Regions from separate parts of the Homo sapiens genome. Here all the other regions are linked to region 1. The links are contacts of gene promoters, found by promoter capture Hi-C in blood cells and fetal thymus (Javierre and others, 2016). All regions are on one chromosome and are shown on one strand. The core of a region is centred on a gene start or on the middle of the fragment in contact, and the rest is flanking DNA. Distances in the headings are between cores, read along the strand shown. Region 1 holds the start of TMPRSS13 (transmembrane serine protease 13). Region 2 overlaps DSCAML1 (DS cell adhesion molecule like 1). Region 3 has its middle 94 kb from the start of CEP164.

Region 1 (4,958 bases), core at 176-2,675:
AAGACACCCTAAGCTGGGGCACAGTTTCCACTGTGAGCTAGAAGTTTCCGTTTTCTTGAATGTAAATGGGGGGCGATAGTAGTCACTTCCTTTCAGTTTTTGCTCAAATATGTCACCACAGAGAGCCCTCTCTGACCATCCTGTTCCCAACTGCCAGGACTCTGCCTCCCCTACCTTCTGGATCCTTTCGCTGCTTTGTTTTTGTGAACGGCACTTTTCACTTTCTAGGAGGCTGTGTAACTGATTTATTGATTTTTGTCTGCTTTTTCCCCCCAACCCGCAAATACTAGAGCCACAGGGCAGGAGGCTTTGCCTATTTTGTTCCTGTGTCCCCAGCACCTAAAGCAATGCCAGGCACTCAATACATATTTGTTGAATGAACACGTGAAGGATGCGTGTGAAGTGTTTCGCAGGATTCTTGGCATCTTAAGATTATTGCTGCTGCTGTTGTTTGCTGTGTGACTTGAGCACATTCCTTAGCCTCTCTGGCCCTCTGTCTCGCAGTCTGTAAAATGAAAAGAGTGAACCACTAAAGATCCATGAGCTTCTTTCAAACTCTAAAAATCTTGGTGCCTCTGAATGCTCAAGAAAGTTCTTCCCAAACCTCAACAGGAACTCCTTTTTCTTTTTTTTTTTTTTGCAGTTCTCAGCAGCAGCTCAGCTGGAACTTAGCCGGAGGTGCTAAGGACTCCTTTTGCAATAGCCCTTCCTTTACTTCTTTTGACTCTGAGGATCAGAATAGGGTATAGGTTTGGGATCACGAGTCAGCCCAATGTTTCTTGGAACAGTTTCCATTCAGATAGTTATGTTTTATTTCATTGACTTTGATGTGTTGCTTCTGGCACTTTATTGTTTTCAATAGAGGGCAATTCATGATGTGCATAATTAAAGGTCATTTGATTTTCATTTCTTTGTTAAGAGTTTCATAAAAACAAACAGAGTTCAGGAGAAAGCAATTGCCAGACCATGCGCCCAGAGACCATGTGCCCTGATTTGGGATTTGGACACCTGGTCCTTGGAGATGAAGGTTCCCACTGTCCTGCCATAGGTGGGGCTCTGCCCCTGGCCTGGAACGTCCCCTGTGGGGATAGGGTCATCCCTCAGAAGGCTCTGGAGCATCTGTTTCAGGGGCTCAGGTCAACAGGACCAAGACCATCCTCTCAAGGCTCTGCCCTTTCTCTCAGGGCCCCTCTGAAGAAGTAGCTCAGAACACTCCTCTGCTTCTGTGGGGGCAGTTTCATGAGTAAAGGCAGCTTCAGGTTCCCGGTATTTGGAATTTGGTATTCGCTGAGTAACTGGGATGGCCTCGATGAGGGGCAGAGGAACAGGTCTGGCTAGTTCTGTGTTGTTTATACTGGGGATTACTTCACACGTCCCAACCGGCTTCCCCGCCCCATTTGGTGGGGGCTGGCCCTTGGCCCTCCAACTCCTTTACCCTACATGCCTGAGAAGCCAGGGACCAAGATGGATCTTCTCCTCGACATCAGCTAAGCCTGGAGGACTCTTCCCCTCAGAGACCATGGAGAGGGACAGCCACGGGGTGAGTGTGACCTCAGGCCTCGGGCCAGATTCTCCCAGCGCTGAGGAAGCAGGGCTGAGGCTGGGAGACAGGTGGGACAGCTACCTCTGTGTTTCAGGTTTGGGGGAAACTGGCTGTGCCTCTTCTAGTTTGAAGCTACTTACGATCAAGATCTCTTGGTCTCCTTTTAACGTGGTTCTAGAAAAAGCCCCTGGGAGGAGAAGCTGCTGGGATTTGGGGTCTGGCTGGTGAGCACCCCAGGGCTATGTGGCTGAGTCGTGGGTTTCCTGCTCTGTGGTCTGTGAGCACTCCTGCCGGGCATCCATAGTGTTACAGCACCAACTTTGCCGATTGGGAATCCAGGCTAATCTACTTTAATCTCATTTTTGCTGGTTGGAAAATCAAAAGCATTCTAACTGCAATTCAGGGGCATCTTGTCTAAACCCCTCACTACACTCCTAAACCTTCCCAGAAAACTGTGACTTTCTGGGTGCATTCAAGATTTTCAAGGGGATGTTTCAACCTCCGTTGGTCACTTCTTTTTGGACTTAATAACTTTCATGCTTGGGAAGTGCTTCTTGATGTTTAACCACAAGTCCTGCTACCACTCAACTTCCTTTCTTCTGCTGCTCTTGGGGTAGGAGAAAGCAGCTGGCCTGTCCTCTGTGGGAAAGCCAGTCATACACACATGAAGGCTTCCAAAGATCTTGTTCTGCTGTGCCTCCACTTTCTTTTCCTCCAGGAAATCCCTTTTGTGCTCTCATTTCTCCTTTAGGTCTTGTTTTCTGCCCCCTCCAAATTCTCTGTACCTTACCGACATGGTAGAGCCTGGGACTCTGGGAAGAATGGGCTAGCACTGGGTTTGGGAAAGATCAGCTCATCCTATGTTTTGGCTTATAGTTGGCTTGTGGTCCATTCTGCACCCCCAATGTGTTTCTGCAAACTTTACCATCATTTTTTTCCCACCATTCTTCCAGCCCCCTCTTGACTTTTCTTTCCCAGGCTGCCTCCCTTGCCCTCTGCTCTGGGCTCCTTCGTTCATGTCTCTACCTCACCAAAGTCACTTGGCCCTAGGCCTTGGGGGGTTATCAGAGCCTCTTACTGTTGAGCAGTAAGGGGGGTACACAAGGGCATGCAGAAGGTGAACCCTTAGTCACAGCCATGGGGCATCCTCCTTGGCAATATGCTGGGAGCCTAAACTAGATGGTCCCTAAACCCAAGAGTGAGAAGGGCTGAGCTATCCGGAGGGTGGCCATGCTCCCACTGGAGATGGATAGTCCATCCCTGAGACAGGGTGATGGGGCGATATCTTCCCAGGAAGCTCATCTCTTCAGAGTCAGGGATCAACATGAAGGCTGCTGGAGGGATACAGGACAGAGAACAGACTTCTTTGAGGAACTCCCAATTAATCTATGAATTAAGTGTCAAATATTATGATAGGTGCCATATTCATTCTGAAAAAAAGATTGTCCAAACTTACCTTGGAATGGAAGAATGGAATCATTACATTCTTATTTAAGGTTCTTAACTTCACTCCCCTATTTAAGATGGAACTCTGAGAGAGTGAGCCTATAGTTGGGGCTCGTATTCCCATCTGCAGCAGGTTTCTTAACCTTGATTAAATAGGAGTGGTCTGGGAGAAGCTGGTCACCTGAGCTTGTGCCTTCTCCTTGAGGGCTTTATTGCAGAGAGATGCATTGTGATTTCTGTCCCTCAACTCCAAAATGTCGTGAGGAAGATGGTGGCCAGTGGGCTTGAGCCTGATGGCACTCCTCTGTCAGCTGCTGGATCTTCAGAGGGATCTTGGAAAAGAGGTGGAGAAGGGTCTCAGTTTCTCATATTCAAAAGAAAGTTGCATGTCGTGGTGGACAGAGAACTGACCATGTTCCCCGTCAGCTTTGGGCAAGCCACTTCACCTTTCTGTACCTTAGTTTCTTCATCTGTAAAATGGAATAATAATACTACTCTCAAAAGAAGAATGTTGGACAAACTAAATTTAACAGAGTTTAATTGAGCAAAGAACAATTCTCAAATGGAGCAGTCCCCCGAAGGAGAATAGATTCAGAGAGATTCCCACACAGCTGCGTGGTCGGAGAGGATTTATGGACAGAAAAAGGCAAGCAGTGTATGGAAAAAGGAAGTGAGGTACAGAAATAGCCTTATTTGAACACTGTTTGAACAGTTGGCTGCCTTTGATTGTGCAAAATTGGTGATTGTTAACAAGAGTAGTTTACAGTCTGTTTACACGTCCAGTTGAGTTATAGTTCATTATGTACAGAGAAACCTTTTGATCCGAACTTAAAATATGTAAGGAGGCAGCTTTAGGCTAAGCTTAATTTAATAATACCTACCTCAAGGAGTCTCAAAATAGTGTCCTTCCCATAGTAAGGCTCATTTAGAATAGCATCTGGCATAGAGAGATAGAGATAGATAGATAGAGATGGAGTCAGAGAATGTTGAAATTTATCATCACTGCCTAGAATTTGGGGTGGGCTCCTATAAATTTGGACAAACATCTTCTTCTACCTGTGCCTCAGCTTCCCCACCAAAGAAGAGGGTTGGACACATTCCCCCCTGAGGCTCCTTTCTGGCTCCCTGACAGTCTGGAATTACATAGAACGGGGATGACAGGTGCGCCACACCAGATTTGTTCTTGACAATGCGTATTTTGTGCTTTTTCAATTCTCATTTTTAATTCTCAGAGCAGTGCAATGCTTATTAAAGAAAGACTGAATTAGACCCATTGATGAAGCAACATTCCTTTGTGGAGTGGATTTTCTTATACTGGGCCTTCTTCAAGTGGAACAGGTTCCAAATTAGCCCAAGGCCACAGGTGCTAGGGATTGGTGAGAACCGTCTGGGGGCCCACCGCTGGTCCAGGATAAGGCACCCTTTCCAGAGGAGCTGGGCAGTTCCTGAGATGGCTCACCCGCGGGTCAAGTCACTCTGCCATGCCGTGTCCCAGCCCCATCCCAGCCCCAGGCACCCCAAGGACCCTGGCACCTGCCCTATGCCCCTGCAGGTGTGTAGCCCTCACCTCGTCCTCCAAGGACCCTGGCACCTGCCCTATGCCTCTGCAGGTGTGCATCCCTCACCTCGTCCTCCAAGGACCCTGGCACCTGCCCTATGCCCCTGCAGGTGTGTAGCCCTCACCTCGTCCTCCAAGGACCCTGGCACCTGCCCTATGCCTCTGCAGGTGTGCATCCCTCACCTCGTCCTCCAAGGACCCTGGCACCTGCCCTATGCCCCTGCAGGTGTGCAGCCTTCACCTCGTCCTCCAAGGACCCTGGTACCTGCCCTGTGCCCCTGCAGGTGTGCAGCCCTCACCTTGTCCTCTGTTTCATGTTGTCATTGGTGAGGAGCAGACTTCCTTTGGCACAGCCACCTCGATTTCCCCTGCATTGTCCCCTGAGACTTGGCAGATGTGAGCGTAAGCGTG
Region 2 (4,287 bases), core at 808-3,307, 490 kb after region 1:
TTCAGGAGACTCACGGGGTGTCCAGGTTAAAAGGAAAGCGCCCAGTATCTGGGTTGGATGCTAATACCTACAAGAAGAGGCCAAACTTTCTTGCCCTGCCTGTGTAGGCACAAATATACACTCAGGTATACACTGATGCACACAAGCACATACACTCAGCTGTTCTCCACACATGCACATGTACATAGAAACACATACGTTCCTGTACTGTCACCAAAAACAAGCCCGGAGAAGAATATGTCCTAGTTTACAAAGGACGTGCACACCCCTGCCTCCTTGTGCCTCAGTCACACACAGGTTGGGCAGAGCTGTATTGCTTCCCTAGTTTGCAAGAGAGAAAACAGCGTCCAGAAACTATGGGCAACCTTACGGGCTGTATGCCCAGGAGGAAGGGCAGGAGGGTGTTGAAGCCACTACACTACCCCACACTTCAAGCACATATCAACGACAGATACGCACACCAGTCCCAGGGTGCTGTGGCCTGAAAGGGCTTCCCAACCACCAGGGCTCAAGGGTGGCTCTGCACCTGCCCCCCCGGACCTCCTGGATTCAAGGCCAGACCCCCACGAGGGAGGCAGGAGGAATATGCCAGGGAGCTGTGTGTGTGTGTTGCAGAGATGCCTGTGCCTTTTCCCCTAACATTTCCCTGCAGATGGCCTGGGGCCAAAAAGGATGTCTCCTCCTGTTATAAGTTATTGGGCCTCTCAGCCCCACTATGGGGCATGAAGAATGTCCCTCTGTGCCCATACATGCCTGGAGGTCTGTTCCTCAGCATGTGTGCATGCGTCTACATGTGTGTGTGCTTGTGAGCGTGTGTGTGCAAGATCCTGTGACTGCAGAGATAACTAATTATTAGCTCCCTCTGGCCTCGGGCCCCCATCTGTTCTGGGGCTGCTCTCCCTCCCTGGACTTCCGCTCTGTTTTCAAAGGGGCCCTGGTGCTGTCCTCCTCTCCCTTCCCTGCGGCTGACCAAAAAATAAAATAAAATGAAAGTCAGCCCCATCCCGCCCGTGCCAGGGAAGAGGCTGACAGGAGGTCTGCAAACTAGCGCTTATCAAAAGCTCCTTCTCAAATTCATTTCAATATCTGAGCCTCTGGTTTCCAAGGCAACATAATCTTTTCATCAAAGCAACTGGTAAAACCACTGGGATCCGATATTGTTTTGTTGGCAACTTGTCAAAACTGTCATTTTGTTAAAAAAAATTTTATAGATTTGTATAACCTACAAATATATATGGTGATCTATACCACTAATAATCATTAATAAAGTGCTACCCAGTAAAGCTTTCATAGTTCCTTCTCCCGCCCCCTCCTCCCTGGACGGGCGGGCGTGCTGCCTGCAAAATGCAGGAGTGGTAATTAGACGGCAGGGCTAGGAGGTGACGGGAGCCAGAGCAGGCTGCAGGAGCCTGTCTCCAACCCTCATCAGGCAGAGGCAGTCATTTGCCTTCTTCCTGAAGACTCTTTCCTCAGGGCTTTCCTGGGACCCCCTGTCCCCCATTCTCCCTTCTCCTGGCTACCCCGTCCCTCACCTAAAGTACTCACATCCCCTGGCCTGAGCCACAGCTGCCAGAGCGTGGATCAGTTAAAGAGGTAAACTGAGGCTGACCCAGCAACACCGCGAGGCAGGCCCATCAGCTCCCAGGGACCAAACCCAGGGCACACTCTGTCCGCTGCATCTCTAAAACTTGGAAAGGGCAAATAGGACAGAATCCTGCCTCGCATCCGACCCCGCCATCCTCTCCTCTGAGCCCCGGGCACTGAGGAAGATTTGGACGCTGGAGGGCCCCAGTTCTGCTTCTTAGAGCCTCTTTGCCTCTGCCCCGCAGGCTCCCAGCGAGTACGAGACGAGTCCAGAGCAGCTCTTCTACCGGATCGCCCACCTAAACCGCGGTCAGCAGTATCTGCTGTGGGTGGCCGCCGTCACCTCTGCCGGCCGGGGCAACAGCAGCGAGAAGGTGACCATCGAGCCTGCTGGCAAGGGTGAGAAGCCTGAGGCTGTGGCAGAGGGGCAAACACTTCCAAAAGCTCCCTTACAGAATCCTGGTTCTCCCCAGACAGGGTCTCTGCCTGCTCCGCTTTATCTGCCACCCAGCTGTGAGGAACTGGCCACCCGCCTGCCTCCCGCACACACCAAGACTGGGCCTCTGCTGCCCCCTGACTCCAGCAAAGCCTCACAACAGGCTGCCTCCGGCTCTTGCCTGGGGCGGGTGGACAGGGTGCACTCAGTTCCCGAGTCCAAACCCTACTCCCAGCTTGAAAAAGGGGGAGTCGCCTCTACCCCCAATTCAAAGCCGGGCCTTTGTCCCAATGCTCAGCTCCTCCAGAGGTGGCTACAGCCGGGTGTGCTGCTTCCACAGAGCAGCTGAGGCTCAAAGGAGAGCCCCCGTGCTGAACTGGACACCGGGCAGGGGTGATTCCAGCGATGGCGGATTCCTGCGATCCGCAGACCTTTACGGAGCGCGTGCTGTGAAGGAAGGCTCTGGGCTAGAATCAGACCCTCTTAGGGAGTGCCCCACTGAATCTCTGACCGGGACATGGGTGTGCCATGGGGGCTGCACCCCCACTTTTCAGAGGAATGACACTTCCAAGGCCTCATCCCAAGGGCAAGCTGTAGCAGCCGCGCAGGTAGAGCTGCAAGGCTGAGCGTCTGCCTCTCCCTGGGGCGTAGGAACTGGCCACAACTAGCCCAGGACCGCAGGTCCTCTACTTGCCGTTGGGCCTCCCTGGGCCCCTCCTCACTCCCCCACTCTCTTATCCACCGCAGCCCAGACGAGAGGAGGTGGTGCCTGCGCAGCCTGGCCAGCCTACCGGGGCCACTCAAGCTTCTCTTGGCCCAAACACAAGAGCCCCAAGCCCTACCCTGCCGCGGGCTCAGAGCCAGCCAGCATCTGATCGAGGGCCTACGGTGGGCCAGGGGCTTCCACCTGCCCTGCCAGCAGGGCTTGTTGACCCATTCCACAGCTGAGCAACCTGAGGCAGGAGTGGCATGGGCTGCAAAGACAACCGGGAAGGAGTGAGCTAGCTCTCCCAGCGCCAAGTCAGGGCTCTTTCCACACAGCCTCAGCACCTCCTACCACCCCCTAACCCCTACCACCAACCTCTTCTTCAGGAAGGGAAGGGGCCTAAAGCCTATCACCCTTCCAGAACAGCTAGCACTGGCCCAGAGGCAGGAGTGTGAGGGCTGGGCATCTTTGCAGAAGGCTGGCCTCTTCTCCTGGGGGCATTAAATAAACACGGTCCTAGAGAGCTGTGGACTTCCTAGAACACATTCACACAGCGTCACCTCACAGCCGCCCTGTGAGGTGGGAAAGACAACCACTCCTGCCCCCTTCCCCCATACACACACACGCACACACACACTGCACACTCATACATGTGCACACGCACAAACACATGCATATGCACGCGCACACACTTATACACACAGACCCACACATACATTTACGCACATACACATACTAATGTGCACACACATGCATACACACACTATACACACTAATATATGCATACACACATGCACACACATACACACTATACACACTAATACATGCATACACATATGCACACATATACACACATACACACTATACACACTAATACATGCACACACATATGCACATGCATACACACGCACACACACACTAGACACACTAATACATGCACACATGCACACACATACACACTATACACACTACATGCATATACGCATATACACACGCATACACACATGCATACACGTGCACACTCACATATGCACATACACAACATGCACTCACATGCATGTGCACAAACACGCATCTGCGCACACACATACACTAACACACACACACACATACACACACTCACATGCAGATGCACATACACACCCACACATACACACACATATGCACACACACCCTGAGACACAGATTCAGGGAGCCAACCCCAGCCTGTGGCAAAACCAGGTCTGGAACCTGATCTCTGGAGAAACTCTGAGAACACCCACAAAGCCCCCAGGCTTCTCACCGCCCCCGCATGGAGGCCGTCTTCATGTGGACCCCTCTGCCGGGCCTGTCTGGTGCCCCCACTGCTCCAAGCAGACCCCAGAACTCCCCTGCTCTGAGAGCCCCTTGGCACCTGGCACGACCAGCACAGGAGCCCACCCCCACGCCATGCACCTGAACCTCTCAGCTGCTCCCTCACTCTCACTCTCCCTCCACCCCAAGAAGGGCCCCAGCTCCATGGGCCTCCTCTACTCTCTGAGGCACTTGGGCACTTGGTTCCTTTAAATCTGGGCCTGGCGAT
Region 3 (5,018 bases), core at 1,482-3,981, 510 kb after region 1:
TGCACCTGACCAACATTTCTATTTTTATGGTGGTAAAAGATACATAAAATTCGCCATTTTAACCATTTTAAAATGTACAATTCAGCAGCATTAAGTATATTCACCTTGTTGTAAATCACTATCCATTTCCAGAACTTTCTCATCATTCCAGAAAGAAACTTTGTACCCATTAATCAATAACTCCCCATCTTCCTCTCTCTCAGCACCTGGCAACCACCATTCTACTTTCTGTCTGTATGAACCTGCCTATTCTGGGTACCTTGTATAAGTGGAATCATACAATATGTGTCCTTTTGGTTCTGGCTTATTTCACTTAGCATCATGTCTTCAAGCTGCATCCATGTTGCAGCATGTGTCAGAATTCCACTCCTGTTTGAGGATATTCCATTATTTACGACATGTTGCTTCTCCATTCATTTCCTCTCCTGGTGGACACGTGGGTTGCTTCTGCCTCTCAGCTATTGTGAATAATGCTGCTATGAACACAGGTGTACAAGGATCTGTTTGAGCCCCTCTTTTCAATTCTTTTGGGAATATAGCCAGGACTGGAACTGCTGAATCACATGCTCATTCTATGTCTTACTTTTTGAGGAACGAACAAACTGTTTTCCCCCAGGCATCTGTATTTTTTGTTTGTTTGTTTGTTTGTTTTTGAGACGGAGTCTCAATCTGTAGCCCAGGCTGGAGTGCAGTGGCACCATCTCGGCTCACTGCAACCTCCACCTCCCGGGTTCAAGCAATTATCCTGCCTCAGCCTCCTGAGTAGCTGGGATTACAGGCATGCGCCACCACACCCAGCTAATTTTTGTATCTTTGGTAGAGACAGGGTTTCACCATGTTGGCCAGGCTGATCTTGAACTCCTGACCTTGTGGCATCTGTATTTTTAACAAGCGAAATGATACCCAAGTATTTGTTCATTCACCAAATACCCAGAAGCACTTCCAATGATCTGGCACTGAGCTGGGCACTGGAGATGCAAAGGCCCTGTGGGTCTCTTCCTGCGCTCAAAGGCTCACTCCCCGGAGTGTGCGCAAACTGGCGGAGGCGGAAGGAGGGAAGCCTGGGTCAGGGAACAGCAGGGAGGGTTTGCTGTCTGCCAAAGCCTCATGATCCTCCACAGTGCACAGTTGTTGCGGGGAAGTCGCTACGCATCCCGTGACTACAGTTCCAGGCCCCCGATTCTCAGAGAAGGCGATGAGACTGAGCTTTGACCAGCGGAATGTGGCATAAGTGATACACGCTACTTTCAGGTCCAGCTCATAAAAACTTCCCTGGCCACCCTCTGCTCTCTCCAACTGTAAGTCAATGCCCAAGGTGAACTTGGAAGCCACTTATTGAAGATGGCAGATCCTCTATCACCCTGGCTTATACATCGATGTAGCGCAGAGGCCCCTCTATCCCCTTCAATGCCAGCTGGACTTTATGTGAGCAAGAAATAAACTTGCAGTAAGCACCGATACTTTGGAGTTTATTTTACAACAATTAGCATCATCTTAATTTATGCAGGAGATGAAGGGGAACTTGGCTCCCCATAGAAATTCTCCCTTGATAGATCAGGCCCAGGGCATCCTCCCCCGCACCGCCTGCCATACCATGTCACCCACCATACCATGTCACCTCCTCTTACCCTACATATTGGATTCCTATACAGGTAAAGGGTGGGAAAGGCAAAGGGAGACGCTGGTGAGCTTAGAGAGGAGGAGGGCATCTGTGTGTCTGTAGGAGAAGGGTGGGAGAACCAGGCTGAGCATGAACCCTGAGTCAGGGCTCTGTCCTTCCTCCCAGAATCCATGTCCTCTTCTGGGCAATGACAACAATACTCTAGGCCGAAGGAGGAATAGATGCCAGCTGGATTACCCTGGAGGTGATCCATACTTGGTTTTAGTGTCTCTAAGAATCGCACAATCTCAGGACTCAAAGAGACCTTCAACGCCACCTGGTCCACGCTTCCACCCAAATTGGGAATTCCATCTGCAATCAGCAAGAGTGGTCTGGCCTTCCCGTGCACACCTCCTGATGGAGAACTCATCACTTCCCCAGCCAGCACATCTCACCTGTGACAGCTCTAACAGCAAAACCTCCCTCACACTAAGCTTGGGTGGCCCCTCCAACTTCTACTCACAAGGCTCGGTACTGCCACTCCTGGGGGGCACCACAAAACAAGTCTCATCCCTTCCCAACTCAGAAGCCCTCCACAGATGGTATTTGAACATCGTCCTCAGCAGACAGGCTCCCCAAGGGCAGAGAAGGGTTCCACTGTCTCTTCCAGAGAAGGGACAGTGCCTGACTTAATAGGAGCACAACATATGTTAGACATAGATGAACAAAGGGTAAACAGTGGGAGAAACGGGCAAGGAGTAGACCAGTGAAGGCCGAGATCTCCTGAAACATTGGTTCTCTCCGCATAGTGTCCCCAAGTTACAAGAAAACAACACAACAGAATACCATCATGCCTGCTGCCGTTTGCTGAGAGTCTACTTGAGTCAAGCACCCTGATAACCACTTAGCACGGATACTCTCCTAGTTTTACCACTACCCTGTAAAAAAGAGTAACTCCTATAAGCACAAAACCCAAGTGGTGGTGTCTCAGGGCCGTAGTGCCAGTCAAAGAACCTCAATCCACTCAGCCACCAAAACGAAAGTTTTAAATAACTCAAGTTATCTGCTTTTGTTTTTGTGATCCTGAAGGGGTCCGAAGAGCAGATGTAAGTGACACCCGCTGACACCCTACGGAGCCTGTGCCTCCCACATCCCCCCACACACTGCCTGCTCTTCTCCAGCCCTGCTCAGCTCCGCCCTCCTCTCCTCTGGGGAATGTTCTCTCACATTCATTTCCCCCCATTTTCCATTAGGAAACAGCAACAGTTGGGCATAGGGGAGGCAGAGGAGGTGGGAGAAACCGCAGGCAAGGCAGGCCTCCTCTTTGGTGATTCGTGGGAAGGATCTATGGATGGGAAATTAATGTGTTTGTAATTTCTGCCCTGAAGATGTGTGATCTCCATTTTATTGGCTAAGAAAGAAGTCAAAGAGGTCAGGTGACTTGTACAAGGCCACTCAGCCGGCAAGAGGCATCAGCCAGGGTTTGAATTCCAAAGCCGGTGCTCACCAAACCACTTCGGATCCTTTCCAGAAAGCCAGGCGGCCCCCAGAAGGCGCCATGTGTAGAGTTCCTACTATGTGGCGGGCACTGCGATGGAAACGCAGGGGCTGCGGAGTCAATCCTGCTGCTCCCTTGCCAGCTCTGTGACCTCGGGAAAGCACCTTCGCCCTCATGGGCCTCAATTTCCGCTTCTATGAAATGCGAGAATAACTCCCATGCTGCCAGGTTGATAAGACTGAAAGGAAATAATGAGGTTAAAAAGCTTTTAACTATGAAATGGGGATTAGACAAGATACAAACCAGCAGACCAGAGGGTCAGATTCCAGAGAAGCCAGGATTTGCCTCATCTGCCCAGGTTTTGTTGTTGCTGTTGTTGTTTCTTCTTTTCTTTCTTTCTTTTTTTTTTTTTTTTTGGTCAGGGTTTTGCTGTTGCCCAGGCTGGAGTACAGTGGCGCAATCATGGTGCGCTCAACCTGGAATTCCCGGCCTCAAGCGATCCTCCCACCTCAGCCTCCCGAGTTGCTGGGACTACAGGCGAGGAACACCATGCCCAGCTTTTGTTTGTTTGTTTGTTTTCCTGCCCAGATTTGTGTCCAGGGAAGCAGGTGGGATATGAAGGTCCCTTGCTGCCCTAGAGAACCTACTGAAGCTCACCAAGAGGATTCACAGCCTGTGCAGAAAGGGAAGCTCTGAAGGCCTCTGATGTCCTCAAATTCACTGTCATCAGTCCCAACCAGGAGCTAGCACTGGGCCCCCAACTCCTGGGAGTCACCAGAAAGGGTGGACGGCGCAGTAAAATGCCACCCCATCCATGCTGGGCCAATGCCTCACCTCCCCCAGGAGGCATCACCCAGATGGTGAGCTCTGCCCTAAGACGTCCTGCCTCTGTGGGTGCCATTCTTTCTCTCTTGAGCTCCACCCTTCCTGGGCCCAGTGGAGGTGGATGGCACCATTCCAGGCATGGCCCTGCGTGTCCCCAGCTGAGCCCCGCCAGGGCCTTTGTGACAAGTGGCATCTCCAGTACGCGCTGACTGGACACATCCGGGCTCAGCACCCGGGCAGCCACCACCAGCCACCACTGCGGCCAGCCGCCTCAGACCAATGCCCCGCACGAAAGCCAGGCCTCCAGCCACCATGGGGCTCTGTCGGCAACACCAAGGGAGAGGGGACTTGGCAGGTCCTGCAAGCTTAGACTACAAGTCTCCCATCCCCACCCTCCCCCAGGCATTTCTACAGTGTCTGACTCTGCCTGACACCCTGGGTCCTGCCCACCTCAGCCTCCTTCCCCAGGAGGCACAGGTCCCACGCCTGCCAGGCTCTGACACCCCTCCATGGGGATTCAGAGACTAGAGGAGTGCACGGTGGATTTTGGGGCACCAGGGGTGTCACCGCAGCCCAGCCCAGACTCCAAGGAACCGCCTGGGTCAGATCGCCCTTGAGCCAAGCAGGGATTCCTTTTAGGAGTTAGGGCCGTTGTAGGGCTTCAGGGTGTCCCTGGGCAGAGCTTAAGAAAAGGGTAGGGTCTGCAATGCCAGGGAGTGGGAGGGAATTCATCACGGGCCTTGGGTGCAGGAATACCTACTGCTTAGGGAGGTCTCCTGTGTGCTTGGCACTTCCCAGGCGCTGGGGGCATGGGGTGAGGAGAACAGGCAGCCCAGCAGATGTTCCAGGGTGCATGGAATGAGCTCATTCTCAGATGAAGACACCGACGCTGAGTCGCTGGACAGTCACTTGTCCAGAGCACAGAGGTGGTCAATGGCAGAGCCACAGATCTGTCTGACTGCTCCCAGGAGGAGGTTTCTGAGGAGGGGAGCACCCGGGCACTACCCTTACCATCTTCTCTTTGTAGCTACAACAGAGTGGATGCTGTTGTGGCCCCAGGGCCTGCCAACTTTCTCCAAGAGGAAATGGGGCTGA

What was found. The method cuts DNA at HindIII sites, captures the fragments that hold promoters and counts their contacts. A CHiCAGO score of 5 or more calls a contact.
Region 2: a contact is called between a fragment that was not itself captured here and the fragment with the promoter of TMPRSS13 in region 1, in 3 of 17 cell types (M1 macrophages, M0 macrophages and endothelial precursors). The highest score is 12.6, in M1 macrophages.
Region 3: a fragment that was not itself captured here is called in contact with the fragment with the promoter of TMPRSS13 in region 1 in 4 of 17 cell types (M0 macrophages, M2 macrophages, M1 macrophages and 1 more); the score reaches 8.2 in M0 macrophages.

The regions. Positions count from the first base shown.
Region 1 is chr11:117,925,869-117,930,826 of GRCh38, reverse strand. TMPRSS13 (transmembrane serine protease 13) reads left to right here and starts at 1,425. Exons shown (of 13, transcript NM_001077263.3): 1 at 1,425-1,540. The coding sequence starts at 1,520. The HindIII fragment of the contact is 10,649 bases long and covers 1-3,852 here.
Region 2 is chr11:117,441,582-117,445,868 of GRCh38, reverse strand. DSCAML1 (DS cell adhesion molecule like 1) reads left to right here. Exons shown (of 33, transcript NM_020693.4): 21 at 1,830-1,983. Among named protein-coding and RNA genes, the nearest start is that of CEP164, 120 kb to the right of the region's middle. RefSeq lists an enhancer at 2,333-3,313. The HindIII fragment of the contact is 1,541 bases long and covers 1,287-2,827 here.
Region 3 is chr11:117,419,390-117,424,407 of GRCh38, reverse strand. No RefSeq gene overlaps it. Among named protein-coding and RNA genes, the nearest start is that of CEP164, 94 kb to the right of the region's middle. RefSeq lists an enhancer at 3,647-4,147. The HindIII fragment of the contact is 1,269 bases long and covers 2,097-3,365 here.